Regions from separate parts of the Homo sapiens genome. Here all the other regions are linked to region 1. The links are contacts of gene promoters, found by promoter capture Hi-C in blood cells and fetal thymus (Javierre and others, 2016). All regions are on one chromosome and are shown on one strand. The core of a region is centred on a gene start or on the middle of the fragment in contact, and the rest is flanking DNA. Distances in the headings are between cores, read along the strand shown.

Evidence for each region. The method cuts DNA at HindIII sites, captures the fragments that hold promoters and counts their contacts. A CHiCAGO score of 5 or more calls a contact.
Region 2: a contact is called between a fragment that was not itself captured here and the fragment with the promoter of LMAN2 in region 1, in 1 of 17 cell types (fetal thymus). The highest score is 5.8, in fetal thymus.
Region 3: a contact is called between a fragment that was not itself captured here and the fragment with the promoter of LMAN2 in region 1, in 7 of 17 cell types (monocytes, activated CD4 T cells, total CD8 T cells and 4 more). The highest score is 8.7, in monocytes.
Region 4: a contact is called between a fragment that was not itself captured here and the fragment with the promoter of LMAN2 in region 1, in 8 of 17 cell types (activated CD4 T cells, total CD8 T cells, total CD4 T cells and 5 more). The highest score is 7.7, in activated CD4 T cells.

Annotation. Positions count from the first base shown.
Region 1 is chr5:177,349,472-177,354,069 of GRCh38, reverse strand. LMAN2 (lectin, mannose binding 2) reads left to right here and starts at 2,402. Exons shown (of 8, transcript NM_006816.3): 1 at 2,402-2,618; 2 at 2,779-2,897. The coding sequence starts at 2,423. RefSeq lists enhancers at 2,212-2,261, 2,272-2,461 and a silencer at 2,103-2,317. The HindIII fragment of the contact is 10,936 bases long and covers 1-4,598 here.
Region 2 is chr5:177,107,993-177,112,590 of GRCh38, reverse strand. No RefSeq gene overlaps it. Among named protein-coding and RNA genes, the nearest start is that of FGFR4, 23 kb to the right of the region's middle. RefSeq lists an enhancer at 1,858-2,357. The HindIII fragment of the contact is 6,039 bases long and covers 1-4,598 here.
Region 3 is chr5:177,547,309-177,551,906 of GRCh38, reverse strand. The region is part of intron 1 of FAM193B (family with sequence similarity 193 member B); the gene reads left to right. Among named protein-coding and RNA genes, the nearest start is that of FAM193B, 5.0 kb to the left of the region's middle. The HindIII fragment of the contact is 5,989 bases long and covers 1-4,598 here.
Region 4 is chr5:177,481,992-177,486,589 of GRCh38, reverse strand. PDLIM7 (PDZ and LIM domain 7) reads left to right here. Exons shown (of 13, transcript NM_005451.5): 11 at 2,400-2,520; 12 at 2,608-2,723; 13 at 2,860-3,196. The coding sequence ends at 2,946. Among named protein-coding and RNA genes, the nearest start is that of DBN1, 11 kb to the right of the region's middle. RefSeq lists enhancers at 1,143-1,858, 1,859-2,574. The HindIII fragment of the contact is 7,991 bases long and covers 1-4,598 here.

The DNA of each region.
Region 1 (4,598 bases), core at 1,153-3,652:
CGCCACCATGGCCGGCTAATTTTTTGTATTTTTAGTAGAAACAGGGTTTCACAATGTTGGCCAGGGTAGTCTCGAACTCCTGACCTCAAGTGATCCACCTGCCTTGGCCTCCCAAAGTGCTGGGATTACAGGTGTGAGCCACCATGCCTGGCTTGTTGTGTCTTGTATGTCTGTTCTCTCTCTGTTTCCATACACACCACAAGAATGTGTGACTTTTTTGAGACAGAGTCTCACTCTGTCACTCAGGCTGGAGTGCAGTGGCAAGATCTTGGCTCACTGCAACCTCCACCTCCCAGGTGCAAGTGATGCTCGTGCCTCAGCCTCCTGAGTAGCTGGGATTACAAGTGTGCACCACCACACCCAGCTAATTTTTTGTAGAGACAGGGTTTCGCTATGTTGGCCAGGCTGGTCTCGAACTCCTAGCCTCAAGTGATCCACCCACCTCGGCCTCCCAAACTACTGGGATTACAGGTGTGAGCCACCGTGCCTGACCAGAATGTGTGACTTTAATAATAAAAAAGCGAACGAAAAATATATGACCAAGAAAAGATTCAGCACTCAATCCTGAATAAGTCCATTCATTCAAGAGGGCAGTTTCTAAAAGGAGCAAGCAACCAACATCCCTCCCTGTGATCTACAACAGGAGTCATTGATTCAAATGTCTGGAGGAGCCAGGCAAGTGCTGTAAACGAGTGACCAGGTGGGGACCAGCTTAGAAGAGGAAGGCATTGGTGGAGGGGCAGTCCCATTCAGCTCCAGCCTATTGTTCTGTTGTGGGAATGTGTGCCTAGATCTTTTGCTGCTGCTTCTTTTTTTTTTTTTTTGGGTAAAAAAACGGAAGTCTGGATTTCTTTTCTTCTTCTTCTTCTTCTTTTTTTTTTTTTTTGTAGAGACAGAGTCTTGCTCTGTCGCCCCGGCTGGAATGCAATGGCGTGATCTCTGCTCACTGCAACCTCTGCCTCCTGGGTTCAAGCAATTCTCCTGCCTCAGCCTCCCGAGTAGCTGGGACTACAGGTGTCCGCCACCACGCCGTTAATTTCTTTTGTATTTTAGTAGAGACGGGGTTTCACCGTGTTGCCCAGGCTGGTCTGAAACTCCTGAGCTCAGGTAATCTGCTCGCCTCTGCCTCCCAAAGTGCTAGGATTACAGGCCTCAGCCACTGAGCTCAGCCGGAAGTCTGGATTTCTGATGTGAATGTACATATTCCGACTTTGTGTGTGTGTGTGTGTGTGTGTGTGTGTGTGTGTGTGTGTGTGACAGAGTCTCGCTCTGTCGCCCAGGCTGGAGTGCAGTGACGCGATTTCGGCTCACTGCAAGCTCTGCCTCCTGGGTTCAAGCCATTCTCCTGGCTCAGCCTCCCGAGTAGCTGGGACTACAGACACCTGCCACCACGCCCGGCTAATTTTTTGTATTTTTTAGTAGAGACGGGGTTTCACCGTGCTAGCCAGGATGGTCTCGATCTCCCGATCTCGTGATCCGCCGGCCTCAGCCTCCCAAAGTGCTGGGATTACAGGCGTGAGCCACCACGCCCAGCCTCTATATTCTGACTTTAAAATACTGGTAGTTAAGCCATTTATTAGAATATTGGCAGGTAAAACAGAGCTCTATTCAGCTGCAGGCCACCAGTTTTCGACCTCTGATTCACAGCTTTCCTGGGCCTTCCATGGACGTTACTTGCTGTACCAGGCACTGCGCTCTTTTGCATAGGGATGAGTTCCAGTCATCACTGGGGTCCCAGGCCAGGATCTGTGTCTGTTCCTCTTGCTTCAACCCGACTAGGCCTGAGGAGTTGAGGGTAGTGGAGGCCCTCAAATAATTGGGAATTCTGAGTCTCCAAAGGCGCGAAGCTGGGGCGCCTGACGGCAGGCACGGCTTAAAGGCTTGCCCAGGGCCACCCGGGGAGGACAAGGGTTGGAATGCAGGACTCCGCCTTCAATTCAGAGCTCCTTTCTCCAGGACTAGAAAAGGTTATTCCAGAGACGGGACTTGCGGCCAGAAGCCCAAGACGTCCTAGTCTTCGCGAATCCGCCCCATTAGAGCGACCGACAAAAACTACAAATTCCAGCATGCCCCGAGTCGCGGACGGCCCTCGCGCTCCCGCCGGCTCCAACCATCCCTCTGCTCCTCATTGGCTCGCAAGCCTAACGTGCTGTTCCGTGACTGGTTACAGCTCTTGTCGCTCGAAAGAACCCATTGCTGGGGCTGGCCGGCGTGTGCCTTGGAGCCTCTAAGGAGATGAAACTGCACTCAACCAGGATGAGAGGCTGCCCGGCCAATGCAGCTGCCGCCCCGTCTGCTGCGGAGGCTTTGCTTTTTGACTCCCTGGCGACAGTAAAGTTGAAGAGCTTCCGGCCGGAGGCCAATAGATGGGACCCCCGGAAGGCGGAAGTTCTAGGGCGGAAGTGGCCGAGAGGAGAGGAGAATGGCGGCGGAAGGCTGGATTTGGCGTTGGGGCTGGGGCCGGCGGTGCCTGGGAAGGCCTGGGCTTCTCGGCCCCGGCCCTGGCCCCACTACACCTCTCTTTCTTCTTTTGTTGTTGGGGTCTGTGACTGCGGATATAACTGACGGCAACAGTGAACATCTCAAGCGGGAGCATTCGCTCATTAAGCCCTACCAAGGTGAAGCCCTTGGGGCGGGAATGAGTGAAGAGTGAGGGCGAGGCTGAACAGGGCTAGGGGAAGGCGTGCCCTTTCTCCTGAGCAGAGCATCTCTGTGGGTTTCCTGCCTCTGGTGAGGCCAGTCCTGGCGTGGCCTCTTAGCACCTGTCTCTTCCCACAGGGGTCGGTTCCAGCTCTATGCCCCTCTGGGACTTCCAGGGCAGCACTATGCTCACGAGCCAGTACGTACGTCTGACCCCTGACGAGCGCAGCAAAGAGGGCTCTATCTGGAACCACCAGGTGAGTGGTTCTCAAGAGGATAGGCGTACTGTGCGGTTGGCTGCTAGTCCCTGCCTCCCGAGCAGCTGAGACCCCAGCTTCGTTTATAGGTTTGCACCTCCGTCCCTGGCCTTTTCCTCATCTCGGTCACACCCACCAATAATAAGAGGCGATGGGTATTGGGTACTTACTATGTGTCAGGAGCTGCGCTTGACACTTTACATCCTCCTCACTTTAAAAGCCATGCGAGATGAGTAATGTTATCTCCATTTTACCCACTGAGAAGCTAAGACTCAGGTTTGAAAGGGCCTTACCCAAAGTTACATAGCCAGAAAGTAGTGGAACTGTCAGGCTGTCTGCCTTGAACCCCCTCAGTAATGGGAAGAACCGAGCGAACTGGATCTTTATTGGGTGTTTTGCTGTGTATTAGGCACTGACCTTGCCATGCCTTATTGCATTTAATTTTCAAACAAGCTGTTTGAAATAGATGGCTTTCATGACTATACAAAGATAACCCAGCTAGCAAATGTCATAAACAGTATTTAAACTCTGATTTGTCTGATCTCTAAGCCCAGCAGTTCACTCGATGTACTTGACTCTTTTCACCTGGACAGTGGAGGAACCCCTTAGAACCCTTTTTGCAATGCTTGGTTGAGGGTCTTGTCATCAGTAGTGTGGAGGGACTGGACCTGTGGGCAGTTCTAGTGTCTGTGACCTTTGCCTCAGAGTATGTAGTATGTAGTATGTGAGCAGTGGCCAATGACAGCTGCTACACAGAATCCACACTGAGGCAGTCAAGGTGAGGAAAAAGGGGAAAGAAGAATAATTTGGGGCTGGGTTACAGCTTGGAGCGGGACCTGCTCCTGCCCCAGCTTGCCTAATCTCAGCCCTTCCCATGGCTTAAGCTGTTGGCCAGTGTTCTAGTTTTCTCCATCACCCTGCTCTCTGATCCCTGCTGGTTGACTTTCTTGTTTAGTTCTGGGAACCCACACTGTCCTTGTGTTGCCTGGTCTGCCCGTCCCCTCTGCTCCTCCTCTCCTTCCTGCCCCGAGCCTCCACACTGCTGTTAGTGGCATCTGCGGATACTTTCTTCAGCTTTCAGTCTGATCCTCAGAGCGTGGAGTCCCCTGTGAAGGGGTAAGCATGCATTATGTCTGCACAATCTGGCCCCTTGTGCATCTCCAGTCATTCTCTGTGTTAATTTTGTTCCAGCCCCCCCTGGCTGCCTTCTTGCCTCAGGACCTTTGCACCTGTTGTTCCCTCTGTCTGGGACACTGCCTCCTGGCTCCTCATGCCTGCTTGGTTCCTTCTCATCTGTTAAGTCTCAATTCAAGTGCCACCCACGCAGACATTTCTTCATTAACCACCCTATCTCCCCCGAGTCACATTCTGTCACATTCTGTCTTAGGGCTTTCAGATATTTTAAAGAAATGATAATTCAGCCTTATATTTTTCATGGAAATGAGTTCAGTATAGCATTATTATTATTTTTTGAAAGCAAGGTGCAAACAGTGCTGGAACTGTAGAAATCAGGAGTAGCCACAAGTAATAGACGCATCTAAGACAGTGGCTTACATTTTGGTTGTAGATAGCTGATGGTTGGCATCATCAGTGGCTCGAGGATGTCACAGGACTGAGAGGCTTCTGCACTTGCCTTCATCGAATTTTCAGTCTGGAGTACAATTGTTTTGCCTTCCTTCCTCCACCTTTCTATTTGGCTCT
Region 2 (4,598 bases), core at 1,196-3,695, 240 kb after region 1:
TGGGCCTTCGCGCATGCTGTTCCCATGGCTTGAGATGCTCATCCTCCCTGCTTAATGTGGAGGTGCTAGAAGCTCTCTTCCAGGGAGGTGGGGAATTGGAACCCCGAAAGAGGAGGAGGAGTTTGGAAAACCAGAAGCGGGGAGACTGTTCTAGGAAGAGAGGGCAGGTGCAAAGGTCCTGTGCACTGGGGAAGGCACTGAAACTAATGAGAACAAGATGCTGTGCCTGAGGCCAAGGCCAGATCATGAAGGTCTCCTATTAAGCGTATTATGGAGCTTGGACCAACGCCTGAGGATGGGGAAGGGTTTGAGCAGGGGCAATTATGGTTTTGTCCATCAGCGATTCCCTTGAGTAAGGTGGAGAGTGGCTTATCAGCATCGTTCTGAAAAACACAGTGCCTAGAGCCAGGGTCTAGGAATCACCCGATCACCACCAGCCAGGGTCCTTCAGGAATCACCCGATCACCACCAGCAGGGGAAGACTCGGGGTCCCCAGCTCAGGCTTGCACCATGCACCAGGCTGGAGTATGCACTTCCTGTGGCTGCCAGCAGGTGGCAACAACGCCCCACCATGTCCCCTCCAACTCTTCCTTCTACCTGGAGACCCCTCACAGGGCAGACAGACCAGAGAGAAAAAAAGAGATGGAGGAGGAAAGGAGAGGACGAGGCCAAGGGATGGACGTGGAAGGGGCTGGGAAGAGTTGGGGTGAAAGGCACAAGGATAGTGAAATTGGGATGCTGCTGGCTTCCTGTTGTTTGTTTCACGGTCAGGCACAGTGTGTTGGTCTGGCGACATTTTCATCATCATCTGCCCTGTCCACCCCCTTGTGGTCCCTCCTCAGGCCCCTGAAACACACTGATGCCACCTGTTCACTCAACTTTCTGTCCTTTCCCATCTCCAGGTTCTCCATCACCTCCTTCACCCTCCCACCCCCCATCAGCCAGTCCCCTTTTATTATTATTTATTTATTTATTTTCTGGGTTTTTTTTGAGACAGAGTCTCGCTCTGTCACCCAGGCTGGAGTGCAGTGGTGCGATCTTGGCTCACTGCAACCTCCGCCTCCCAGGTTCAAGCAATTCTCTGCCTCAGTCTCCCAAGTAGCTGGGACTACAGGCGCCCGCCACCACGCCCAGCTAATTTTTTGTATTTTTAGTAGAGACGGGGTTTCACCATCTTGGCCAGGCTGGTCTTGAGCTCCTGACCTTGTGATCCCCCGCCTCAGTCTCCCAAAGTGCTGGGATTACAGGTGTGAGCCACTGCGCCCAGCCCCCTTTTATTTTTATTTTTATTTTGTTTTTGAGAGGGAGTCTTGCTCTGTCATCCAGGCTGGAGTGCAGTGGCATGATCTCGGCTCACTGCAACCTCCACCTCCTGGGCTCAAGCGATTCTCCTGCCTCAGCCTCCCGAGTAGCTGGGCTACCTAGTAGCCCACCCACACCCAGCTAATTTTTGTATTTTTAGTAGAGACAGGGTTTCACTGTGTTGGCCAGGCTCATCTCAAACTCCTGACCTCAGGTGATCTGCCCGCCTCAGCCTCCCAAAGTGCTGGGATTACAGGCATGAACCACTGTGCCCGGCCTCCCTTTTATTTATTTATTTATTTATTTATTTATTTATTTATTTATTTCAGACAGGAGCTTGCTCTGTGTTCCAGGCTGGAGTGCAGAGACTCAATATCGTAGCTCACTGCAACCTACTGGGCCAGATCCTGAAGGCCTCCTCTGCGTGTTAAGGAGCTTGGACTATTCCAAGCAGAGACTGTTCTCTCTGTAAGAGTGATCCTACCACCTCAGCCTCCCAAGTAGCTGGGACTACAGGCACGTGTTCTCGCACTCGGCTAATTGTTTTATTTTTTTTGTAGAGACAGGGTCTCACTGTGTTGCCCAGACTGGTCCTGAACTCCTGGCCTCAAGTCATTCTCCCGCCTCAGCCTCCCAAAATGCTGGGATTTCAGGCGTGAAATGCCATGCCTGGCCTAGCAAATCCTCTTATTCTGCATCTGGCCTTCCACTTTTCTCTATCCCCTTGGCCAAGCTGGGAGCCTCAGAATGTAGCTGTGCAGAGGCGCTGCTGGCCCCAGACCAGAGAGTGGGAGACAGCGTGGATGGTCACTCTGTGGATGCTCTGGGGCTCTTACTTCTGTCTTCTTGGGAGGCCACACATGTACTTTGGGGGGCTGTTCCGGTTCCCGGCTCTGAGTCTAGCCAGGCGCTGCAACAATCCCCTCCACTGCCTGCCCATCTGCACCAGCCCCTTGCTTTCCTGTCTTGTCACTTGCCTTAGGATAAACCCACAGCCTACGAGGCCCCCTGGGTTTGGCCTCATCTGGCACCGTGTTCCCCCTCACTCTTGTGCTCTGTCCACGGAGCTGGATCGGATGCCCTCACCTTCGCCCTGCACCTGCCTGCCTCCAGACCTTTGCAGAGACCATTCTGTCTGCCTGGAATGCATTTCCTCCCACTCTTCACAAGGCCAAGGCTCTCCTCCTTCAACTCAAACATCATTCCCTCAGGGAACCCTTCCCGGAGCCGGAGCCGGAGCCGGAGCCGGCCAGGATCAGTCCCCACCGTCAGCACTCACAGCTGCAGGCTGTTGACCTTCAGAGCTCTGCGTTTCATTACAGTCAGCATTTTCCTGGGTGTTTGTTGAATATCTGTCTCCATTTGTAGATACGAAACTCCTCAGGGCAGGGGCCAGGTCTGTCTTCACTGGGTATACCCAGTGACTAGAAGAGTACCTGGCCTATGGTAGGTGCCCAGTAAACATTTCTTGATTTACTGAGCCTTTCAATTCCCAACACTCCACAACTCCACACCCCTGCACGCCTTCCTCTATCTGGTCAGTGCTCAGTGCTTCGTTCTTTTTTTTTTTTCTTCTAATACAGAGTTTTGCTCTTGTTGCCCAGGCTGGAGTGCAATGGCACAATCTCAGCTCACTGCAACCTCTGCCTCCCGGGTTCCAGCAATTCTCCTGCCTCAGCCTCCGGAGTAGCTGGGATTACAGGCGCGTGCCACCACGCCCGGCTAATTTTTGTATTTTTAGTAGAGACAGGGTTTCACCATGTTGGCCAAAATGGTTTTGATCTCCTGATCTCGAGATCCATCCGCCTCGGCCTCCCAAAGTGCTGGGATTACAGGCGTGAGACACTACGCCAGGCCTCATTCTCCATTCTTATCACCCTGCCCCCCAGACAGTCGTGCTAATAGTTTTGTGTGTGCGTTCTTGGAAAATGTGTGTTTTCCGTGTCATCATTTCGTGCAAGTGGCTTTGTGCTTTAGATCTCATTCCATTTCTTCCTCTTGCCTCTCAGCACGAGATTTCTAAGTCCCCCATGTGGCTCTGTGTCCACCGGGTCCTCCACACATTCTGCTGATCCGCCTTCCAGTGAGGAACCCCAGGCTGGATCCAACCCCTCCTCCTGCCTTCCCCACACGGTCACATGGGAGGATCTCTGTGTGTTGTGTGTGTGTGTGTGTGTGTGTGTGTGTGTGTGTGTGTGTGTTTGGGGGCAGTTATATGTTCAGGGCAACATTTCCAGGTCATAGGGCATGTGTGTATATACTTAGCTGAATGCTCCTAGACTTCGCTGGGACAGCTTCAGCCCCCAGTCCAGGAGAGCCTCTCGTCTCCTTGCCAGCACCTGGAGTTCTCCAGCTTTTTTTTTTTTTTTTTTTTGAGACGGAGTCTCTCTCTGTCACCCAGGCTGGAGTGCAGTGGGACGATCTCAGCTCACTGCAAGCTCCGCCTCCTGGGTTCACGCCATTCTCCTGCCTCAGCCTCCTGAGTAGCTGAGATTACAGGTGTGCACCACCATGCCTGGTTAATTTTTGTATTTTTAGTAGAGACGGGGTTTCACCCTACTGGTCAGGCTGGTCTTGAACTCCTGACCTCGTGATCTGCCCTCCTTGGCCTCCCAAAATGCTGGGATTACAGGCTTGAGTCACCATGCCTGGCTAATTTTTGTACTTTTAGTGGAGACGGGGTTTCACCATGTTGCCCAGGCTGGTCTCGAAATCCTGACCTCAGGTGATCTGCCTGCCTTGGCATCCCAAAGTGCTGGGATTACAGGTGTGAGCCACCATGCCCGGCCTTTTTTTTTTTTTTTTTTTTTTTTTTTTTTTAAATACCGAGTTTTGCTCGTGTTGCCCAGGCTGGAGTGCAATGGTGCAATCTCAGCTCACTGCAACCTCTGCCTCCTGAGTTCAAGCGATTCTCCTGCCTCAGCCTCCCGAGTAGCTGGGACTACAGGCGCCCGCCACCGCGCCCGGCTAATTTTTTGTATTTTTAGTAGAGATGGGGTTTCACTGTCAGCCAGGATGGTCTCGATCTCCTGACCTCGCGATATGCCCGCCTCGGCCTCCCAAAGTGCCGGGATTACAGGTGTGAGCCACCGCGCCCGGCCCATTCTCTGACTTTCTCACTTGCCAGTCTGGTAGGTAGGAAGTGAGAGCACACCTAAGATTATTCTCGAGTCTCCAGATCTCCTCCAGTGCTTCTTAGCCTCTGGGTCTCCTCCTCAGTCAATTACCTGGTTGCACACTGTCCTTATTTGTGTTTCGAGGTGCCCGTCTTCTTTCGGAGTTGCAGGAGTTCCTTA
Region 3 (4,598 bases), core at 1,214-3,713, 200 kb before region 1:
TGGTGCAAAGCACCTAGTGTAAGGGTAGGGTTCAGTCATTGCTCTGCCTACAAGCGTGTTTTTGGTGAGGAACTCTGGCTCCCATTGCCACTCATAACCCTGTCTTACATCTACAGAGTGGATAAGGAAGATGAAACTCAGTGTCATATACCAAACTGAATCCAAAGGTGGCAAATAAGACCACTTCCAGTCCACAGGCTTGTTGTAATGCCCCAGCTCACATATTGTTTTGTTTCTGTTTTTATTTTCATTTGAGCCAATATTTTAAAGATCAAAAGGTTTCCCACACATTTGGATTTGGGGCTCTTTTTTAAACTAAAGATATGGTGATGCTGGGTCCACTTTTCCACAAGGCAGTAATCAGTAGTCTCTGAGTAGCATTTGGCCCTTTTAGACAGCGTATGCTCCTTAGGCATCTTTGGTTCTTTCCAGGCCCCTTCACTCATTGGCATAACCTGTACACATTTAAAGCAGGACCTTGAGTTTAATTGGGATCCCAAATGGCTTTCAATTGTTTCAGGCCACTAAACCACATTGATCTGTTTCCTAACAACCCAAATCCTCGTTTATAGCACAAGAAGGCTGAAACAGTTACTACCTTATTAGCAAAGGAAAACAAAACAAACAAAAAAAAAAATAAAGAACAACTGAAAAAGCAATTGTAGGAGGCAGTGGGGAATAGTGTTTAGAGACTTGGATTGAATTCCCAGCTTAGCCTCCTAGCTTTGTGACTCCGCAAGTTGCTTCTCTCTGACCCCATCAGGAACTTCACAAGAGGCCTTGGTGGCTCACGCCTGTAATCCCGGCACTTTGGGAGGCTGAGGCAGGAGGATCTCTTGAGGCCAGAAGTTTGAGACCAGCATTGGTGACATAGTGAGATCTCTGGTTCTATAAAAAAAAAAAAATCAAAACTTAGCTGGGCATGGGTTCACACCTATAGTCTCAGCTAGTTGGGATGCTGAGGCGGGAGGATTGCTTGAACCCAGGAATTAAGTTACCCAGGACTTCATGTGCACGCCACTGCACCCCAGCCTGGGGGAGAGAGGGAAACACCGTCTCCTTTTAAAATAATAATAATACTTCACAAGAGAAGCAACCTATGCAGCAGCTAGTACATAGAAGCGCCTCACCTAAGAGAGGGGGCAGGAGCTGTGCCAGGTGGCCATACAAAGCCTGAGTGTTCTGGCCTGTTAGCTCTGCTAGCTGTCTTTCATCTCTCTTGGACCACTGAGTTTGTAATCCAGTGTACACTCAATAAGCCCCCAGGAGACTTGCTAGGATGTAAGCCAGCAGTTGGTGAGGAGAGGTGAACTCATCCTACCCTTCCCCACCTCTTGTTCCCTCCACATTGTCCTCTGGGACTTTGCCCAGTCTAGTTTAAAGGGACTCTAGAGATCCGATTCTTCCACTGTTCCCTCAAGAAATTGGAGCAGATGATTAGTCAGTATCTTTAATAAAAGCATCTCATTATGTTTAATTCACTCAGCAGATACCAAAACCACCTCTGTGCCAGGACCTTTATTTGGGGTGCACAGATGGATAAGATAGTTCCTATCTTTGGGGACCTCCCCCTTAGAATCAGTGCCTACCCAGCCTGCACTACTTCCATTGTCAGTAGGAGGAAATGATACTGAGGGGATCCTTGCCACCTCTGGTTCTTCTTTGTAAGCCAGTAGAGACTCACTATATAAAAATGTCAAAAGACCTTTGAAAATGAAGACTTACCCACTTAGGATTTTAATTTTTTTTTTTAATTTAGAGATAGGATCTTGCTATGTTGCCCAGGCTATCCTCAAACTCCTGGACTCAAGTGATACTTCTCCTTAAGCCTCCCAAATAGCTGGGACTACATGTGCATGCCACTACACCCAGCTGAGTTTTAAATTTTTAATTTTTGATATCAGATGGATGATCCTAACACCTTTACTTACCTCATCTAGAATTTTTTAGAGCAGGGTCTATGTTTTAATTTATTTGGGGGGAAATATATTGTGTGTGGACCTTATATACTCAATACATGGCTGTTAAAAATTATAATAAGTAAGGATTCTACCACTTTGTTCTTGTCTGCCCCCACAACTGGGCCAGGCTGGCAGTTATTCATTTAGGCCAGCCATTCGCATGCTGTGATGCCCAGTTTTATTTCACATGGCATTTATTGTGCAGACACTAACCGATCCCAGCTCTGTGCCAGGCCTGGGCTAGCTGCGCATGCAGAAGTGAATCAGACATAGTCCCTTCCCACAAGGGGCTCATAGTCTAGAGAACGTGTGTATAGTAATTGCAGTAATGCTAGAAGGAGATATAGCATCGGCTTCCTCTGAATAAAGGTTCAAATCCTGGACCCTATTAAGTGGCCTTTGCAAGTGTTTCAGCCTCTTGGTTTGTTTTCTCATGTATAAAATGACAATCCAGGCTGGGCGCGGTGGCTCATGCCTGTAATCCCAGCACTTTGGGAGGCCGAGGCGGGAGGATCACGAGGTCAGGAGATCGAGACCATCCTGGCTAACACGGTGAAACCCTGTCTCTACTAAAAATACAAAAAAATTAGCCGGGCATGGTGGCGGGCACCTATAGTCCCAGCTACTTTGGAGGCTGAGGCAGGAGAATGGCGTGAACCTGGGAGGTGGAGCTTGCAGTGAGCCAAGATCGCGCCACTGCACTCCAGCCTGGGCGACAGAGCGAGACTCCTTTCTCAAAAAAAAAAAAAAAAAAAAAAGAAAAGACAATCCAGTCTTACATGGTTAATGTTAGGGTCCAACAAGTGCGGTATGCTTAACACAAGTGGTAGCTCTGAGTATTGTAGATATTTGGTGTCAGGGTTGCCCAAGACATAACCTAGAGGAAGATGGGTCAGAGAATGCTTCTCAGAGCTGAGTCTTCAAGGTTGTGTAGAAGTTCTCCAGAGGACAAGGTGGTAGAAAGGAGTCTAAACAAAGGAAGGAACTTGTACAAAGACCCAGGGCGAGCACCACTCATTTGGAGAGTCGGGAGAGATCCGGCTGAAGGGGCTAGCAGGGTTCTTGAAAACCACACCAAGAGGTTTAGGCTTTATCCTGTAGGTGGTGAAGAATCAATGAAAGGTTTTAAGCAGGAAAGAGAACGTGATGTGCTTCAATACATTCTCTGATAGCATGTGAGGAAGTAATTCTCAGTGGGAGAGACAGCTGTGATTGCTTGATTCCACCTCTCCCTTGCCCCAAGCTAATAATCATCAGATCCCCTGTGCTTTGCTGGACCCTATCCCAGACTTACAGAGTCAGTCTCCAGGTCTGGATCCCAGGTATCTATTGTTGAATTGTTCCCAAGTGACTCTGACATGTGACTGGGTCTGGGAGCTGCTGAATTGAGGGTGCCAGGGGGATCTTTGAGGAGACCTAGGGTATTCTTCAAACAGTGGGTTTCCCAGGGAGGAGCTTTTCCATAAACAAGAACAGAAACAACCTTAGTTTAAAACAGAACAAAAAACCTTCCCCCAGTTCTGATCTATTAATGATATTTGCCAACTTCCATTGTGTATAATCTTCCATTGTGTATCCAAACACTTACCTGTGCCTACTCTGTGCTACAGCTTCTGCTGAATGACTGCAATACAGTGACTTGTGGGACACAGGCTCTGCCCTTGAAAAGCTCACAGTATTGTGGAAAGGACAGATTTCAACCACTAGAATATATATGATAAGCTCTATTCTAGAGATACGTTTTTAAACAAAAGAGTGTTAGGATATCCTAGAGCAAAGCCAAGTTCATTCTTCCTGTGGACTTAAGAGGATGTAACACCCAGATCGAGCCTAAAAAAAAGAGAAGAAAAAGGCAGAAGGAACAGCATATGGGAAGGTGTGACTACTTTATGTATTTGGTCCTTCTTGGCAGGATGTGCAGAAGCAGAGAAGGACTGAGGAGAGGCATGCTATGTCTTGGGAAGGGCCCTGTGTGTGTGCCTTCGGTTCTGTGCCTGTGAGCCTGCCTTCATCCTTCAGACTCTGGGTGGCTCCCAGCACAGCAGCTGCATGGTTGTGCAGCCTGTGGGCCAACATGCTGCAGTCCATCTCCCCTTCATTCTCCACCAAAGGCCCTTAGCTCCCTTTATTATTTCCCCCTCCATGCTTAGGATGCTTAGCACAAGTGGTAGCTACGAGTAGATCTATCTACTGTGAAAAATGATGTAGGGAAACTAAAGCAGAAAGAAGGGGCTGGTGGAACTGCAAACACTGAAGGTTTTATTAGGAAGTTATAGCCAGAAAACAAGGAGCTGGGGGTTCAAAGAGGCCTTGAAGTCACTTGTCTAGTCCTTCTGTCCTTTGCTTCAAGAAATAAATTTGGGGCCGGGCGCGGTGGCTCACGCCTGTAATCCCAGCACTTTGGGAGGCCGAGACGGGAGGATCACGAGGTCAGGAGATCGAGACCATCCTGGCTAACACGGTGAAACCCCGTCTCTACTAAAAAATACAAAAATTAGCCGGGCATGGTGGCGCGTGCCTGTAGTCCCAGCTACACAGGAGGCTGAGGCAGGAGAATGGCGTGAACCCGGGAGGCGGAGCTTGCAGTGAGTCGAGATCGCGCCACTGCACTCCAGCCTGGGCGACAGAGCGAAACTC
Region 4 (4,598 bases), core at 918-3,417, 130 kb before region 1:
CTGGTAGAGCCCCCTCTCCCACCAGCTCAAAGCCCAAGTTCCTTCACTGTGACCTTGTCTGCTCCTCTAAAACAGGCAACACCAGACAGTGAGAAGAGCCAGCCAGACATGGGCAGAAAACCTATTTCTGTGATCTACTGGCTGTGTGAGCAGGGGCTAGTTGCTCTCTCTGGGCCTCACTGAAGAGAAGGGTGGCACTATGCTAGGGCCGGCACGGTTGCAAGGTAGATGTAAGATGGGGTACAGGTGTTGTGGAGGGCAGAAATGCACCATCCGAAGGCTACATGTCCCCCACACTTATGTCTTGCTTGGCCCACACTGTTTCATTTTAAAATCAGTAGCAAACAATTTAAAAAATCAGAAGATTTGCCTGCATGATGCAGTGGCTCATGCCTGTAATCCCAGCACTTTGGGAGGCCAAGGTGGGAGGATTGCTTGAGCCCAGGAGTTCAAGACCAGCATGGGCACCATAGCAAGACCCCTGTTTCTACAAAAAAAAAAAAATTAGAAAATTAGCCAAGTGTGGTGGCATGCACCTGTGGTCCCAGCTACTTGGGAGGCAGAGGGAAAGTGAGATCTCCTGCTTTTTATTTCTTTATGTATAATGATAGGGTCTTGCTCTGTTGCCCAGGCTGGAGTGCAGTGGCATGATCACTGCTCACTGCAGCCTTGATCTCCTGGGCTCAGAGGATCCTCCCACCTCAGCCTCCCAAATAGCTAGGACTAGAGGTGCCCACCAGCATGCTCAGCAGATTTTTAAATCTTTTTGTAGAGATGAGGTTTTGCTATGTTGCCCAGGCTGGTCTCGAACTCCTGGCCTCGAGCGATCCTCCCACCTTGGCCTCCCAAAGCACTGGGATTACAGACGTGAGCCACTGCGCCCAGCAGATTTCTCTTTAACACCTAGATTTCAGCCTGAGCCAGGCAGGCATTCCTGAATGAACCAGTAGTACTGCTCCCAGAAGAAGAGGTCCTCCTCCGTGTGACACAGTCCCCACTTGGCCCTTGCAGGGATTGGATCTGGGATCCCTGGATTTAAACTCAGGGCCATCCTCATAACAGCCTCACAAGGCTGGGATTAGCTTCCCAGTTCACAAGGGAAGAAACCAAGACTTGAGAAGGTCAAGGTCTGGCCAGACCCACACATCTTGGACCCTCATACCGCCTCGAGGCCCCATGCTGCCCTCTGCCTGCTCCAGATGTGAATACTGCTGGCCCTGGCTGGCCCCGGCTGGCCCCGAGGGTCCTAGGGATGAACAGCCCAGCCCAGGGAGAGCTCAGCCCCTTGTGCCTCTGCCCCTTCCCACCTCCTGCGGAGGCCAGTCGACTCACCCACAAAGGGCCAGGCACTGTGGGGATAGATCAGCTAACAAAACAGTTGATGCTTCCTGCCCTTCTGGGCCTTACATTTTGGCTGGAAGAAGAGGGGAGAGGCAGACTGTAAGCAATAAGCGCAATAAGTAGGTTGCCTGGAAGTAATGTTAGATCACGTTACGGAAAACAGGAAAGAGCAGAGCGACAAGTGCTGGGGTGCGTGGTGCAGGGAAGGCAGCTGGCTGCTGCTGGTGTGGTCAGAGTGGGCCCTCATGGAGAAGACTGCATTCGAGCAGAAACTTGAAGGGGGTGAGGGGTGAGCCTAGAGATATCTGGGGCAGAGCAGTCCAGGCAGAGGGGACAGCCGGTGTCAAGCCCAGGACAGGAGTGTGCCTGGTGTGCCAGTTTCAGGCAAGAGGCCAGTGTGCAGAGGCAAGGTGAGAACGCAAGGGAGAGCAGTGGCGGAGACGGTTGGGAACGAGGTCAGACCTGCTGGCCTCCAGCCTCTGCATGGGGCTTGGCTCTTGCTGGGAGCAATGGGAAGCAGTACACAGTTTCATGCAGGGGGAGAAGGCCTGTCTTGGGTTGCAGGGGCACGCTGTGGCAGCTGGGATCAGAGAGAGGAGCTTGTAGGCCAGTTGTTATGTGGTCCCACGGGCCAGATGGCCATGGCTTACCTCACTTCAGGGAGGCTGTGAGAAGCACTCAGAATCTGGATGTGCCTTGGGGGTGGGCCCCACTGGATTTCCTGGTGGACCTGGTGTGGGGTGTGAGAGGAGGGTGTGTTTGGCTGCAGCAGACAGGAGAATGGAGTTGCCATCCGCGTGATGGGGATGGCTGTGGGAGGAGAGGTTTGGGGTGAGGGAATCAGGAACTGAGTGCTGGACATGGCAAGTCTGAAGGCGCAGTGGTCGTCCACTCAGAGACCTTGGAGTTGGAGATGGAGGTGTGGGAGTCCTGAACAGTTAGATGTAGTGTTTACCGCGAGAAGGAACAGGGCTTGCGGCCAGCCCTCCTGTGTTCCCGTGACCCAGGGCAGGGCAGGAGGGGCCTGAGCCTGCCGAGTGACTGGGACCTCCTTCCAGGAGATCATGCACGCCCTGAAGATGACCTGGCACGTGCACTGCTTTACCTGTGCTGCCTGCAAGACGCCCATCCGGAACAGGGCCTTCTACATGGAGGAGGGCGTGCCCTATTGCGAGCGAGGTACCCACTGGCCAGTGAGGGTGAGGAGGGATGGTGCATGGGGCAGGCATGAATCCAGGTCCTCTTTCTCTCTGCCCCCATTCTCAGACTATGAGAAGATGTTTGGCACGAAATGCCATGGCTGTGACTTCAAGATCGACGCTGGGGACCGCTTCCTGGAGGCCCTGGGCTTCAGCTGGCATGACACCTGCTTCGTCTGTGCGGTGAGAGCCCCGCCCCTCGAACTGAGCCCCAAGCCCACCGGCCCTCTGTTCATTCCCCAGGAGATGCAGGAGAAGTTGGGAAGGGGCCTCTCCTGCTGCCCCCAACCCCATGTGACTGGGCCTTTGCTGTCCTTAGATATGTCAGATCAACCTGGAAGGAAAGACCTTCTACTCCAAGAAGGACAGGCCTCTCTGCAAGAGCCATGCCTTCTCTCATGTGTGAGCCCCTTCTGCCCACAGCTGCCGCGGTGGCCCCTAGCCTGAGGGGCCTGGAGTCGTGGCCCTGCATTTCTGGGTAGGGCTGGCAATGGTTGCCTTAACCCTGGCTCCTGGCCCGAGCCTGGGGCTCCCTGGGCCCTGCCCCACCCACCTTATCCTCCCACCCCACTCCCTCCACCACCACAGCACACCGGTGCTGGCCACACCAGCCCCCTTTCACCTCCAGTGCCACAATAAACCTGTACCCAGCTGTGTCTTGTGTGCCCTTCCCCTGTGCATCCGGAGGGGCAGAATTTGAGGCACGTGGCAGGGTGGAGAGTAAGATGGTTTTCTTGGGCTGGCCATCTGGGTGGTCCTCGTGATGCAGACATGGCGGGCTCATGGTTAGTGGAGGAGGTACAGGCGAGACCCCATGTGCCAGGCCCGGTGCCCACAGACATGAGGGGAGCCACTGGTCTGGCCTGGCTTGGAGGTTAGAGAAGGGTAGTTAGGAAGGGTAGTTAGCATGGTGGCTCATGCCTGTGATCCCAGCACTTTGGAAGGCCAAGGTGGGCAGATCGCTTGAGGTCAGGAGTTCGAGACCTCATGGCCAACACGGTGAAACAGCGTCTCTAGTAAAAATACAAAAATTAGCCGAGTGTGGTGGGGCATGCCTGTAATCCCAGCCACTCAGGAGGCTGAGGCGGGAAAATCACTTGAACCTGGGAAGTGGAGGTTGCAGTGAGCTGAGATCACACCACTGCGCGCGAGCCTGGGTGGCAGATGGCAGAGCGAGACCCTGCTTCAAAAAAAAAAAAAAAAAAAAAAAAAGAAGGGTAGTTGTAGTTGGGGGTGGATCTGCAGAGATACGGTGTGGAAAACAGCAATGGCCACAGCAAAGTCCTGGAGGGGCCAGCTGCCGTCCAAACAGAAGAAGGCAGGGCTGGAGAGGGTAGCCCTTAGGTCCTGGGAAGCCACGAGTGCCAGGCAGTAGAGCTGGGGCTGTCTCTTGAGGTTAGGGCAGGGCAAGGCACAGCAGAGTTTGAAATAGGTTTGTGTTGTATTGCAGAAAAGAGGCCCCAGAACACTGAGGGAGTGCAGGAGGGAGGCTGGGAGGAGGAGTTGCAGCAGGGCCTAGGGGCGGGGGCCAGGCAAGGGAGGGGCAGAGAGTAATATGGCAGAGATGGGACCCAGTGGCAGGTCCGGGGGATGAGGGATGGAGAGAAGGACAGGAGCGTTGCCAGGCATCTGGCCTATACCAGACATGCTCACGCTGTCTCCCGCGAACCTCCTAGCAACCTTGCGCCGTTGTCTGCAATCACTTATTTCATTTTTTCTTTTTTAACTTTAATTTTTTTTGTTTTTAAGAGACAGGATCTCCCTAGGTTGCCCGGGCTGGTTTCAAACTCCTGGGCTCAAGCAATTCTTCCTCCTTAGCCCCAAAGTGCTGGCATTACAGGTGTGAGCCACCATGCCTGGCCCACTTATTTTCTAGATGAGGCACAGAAAGATTGGGAGACTTGACCAAGGTCACGCTGTCATTGAGCCATGAGCCAGACTAGAATCCAGGCCTGAAGCTGGGTGCGCTGTCCCAGGACTGGCTGGCACTGAGTACCATTTGCCAGCGAGCATCTCTCTGGGAAGCTGACTTCTGCCCGGTACCTGGAGGACTGTAGA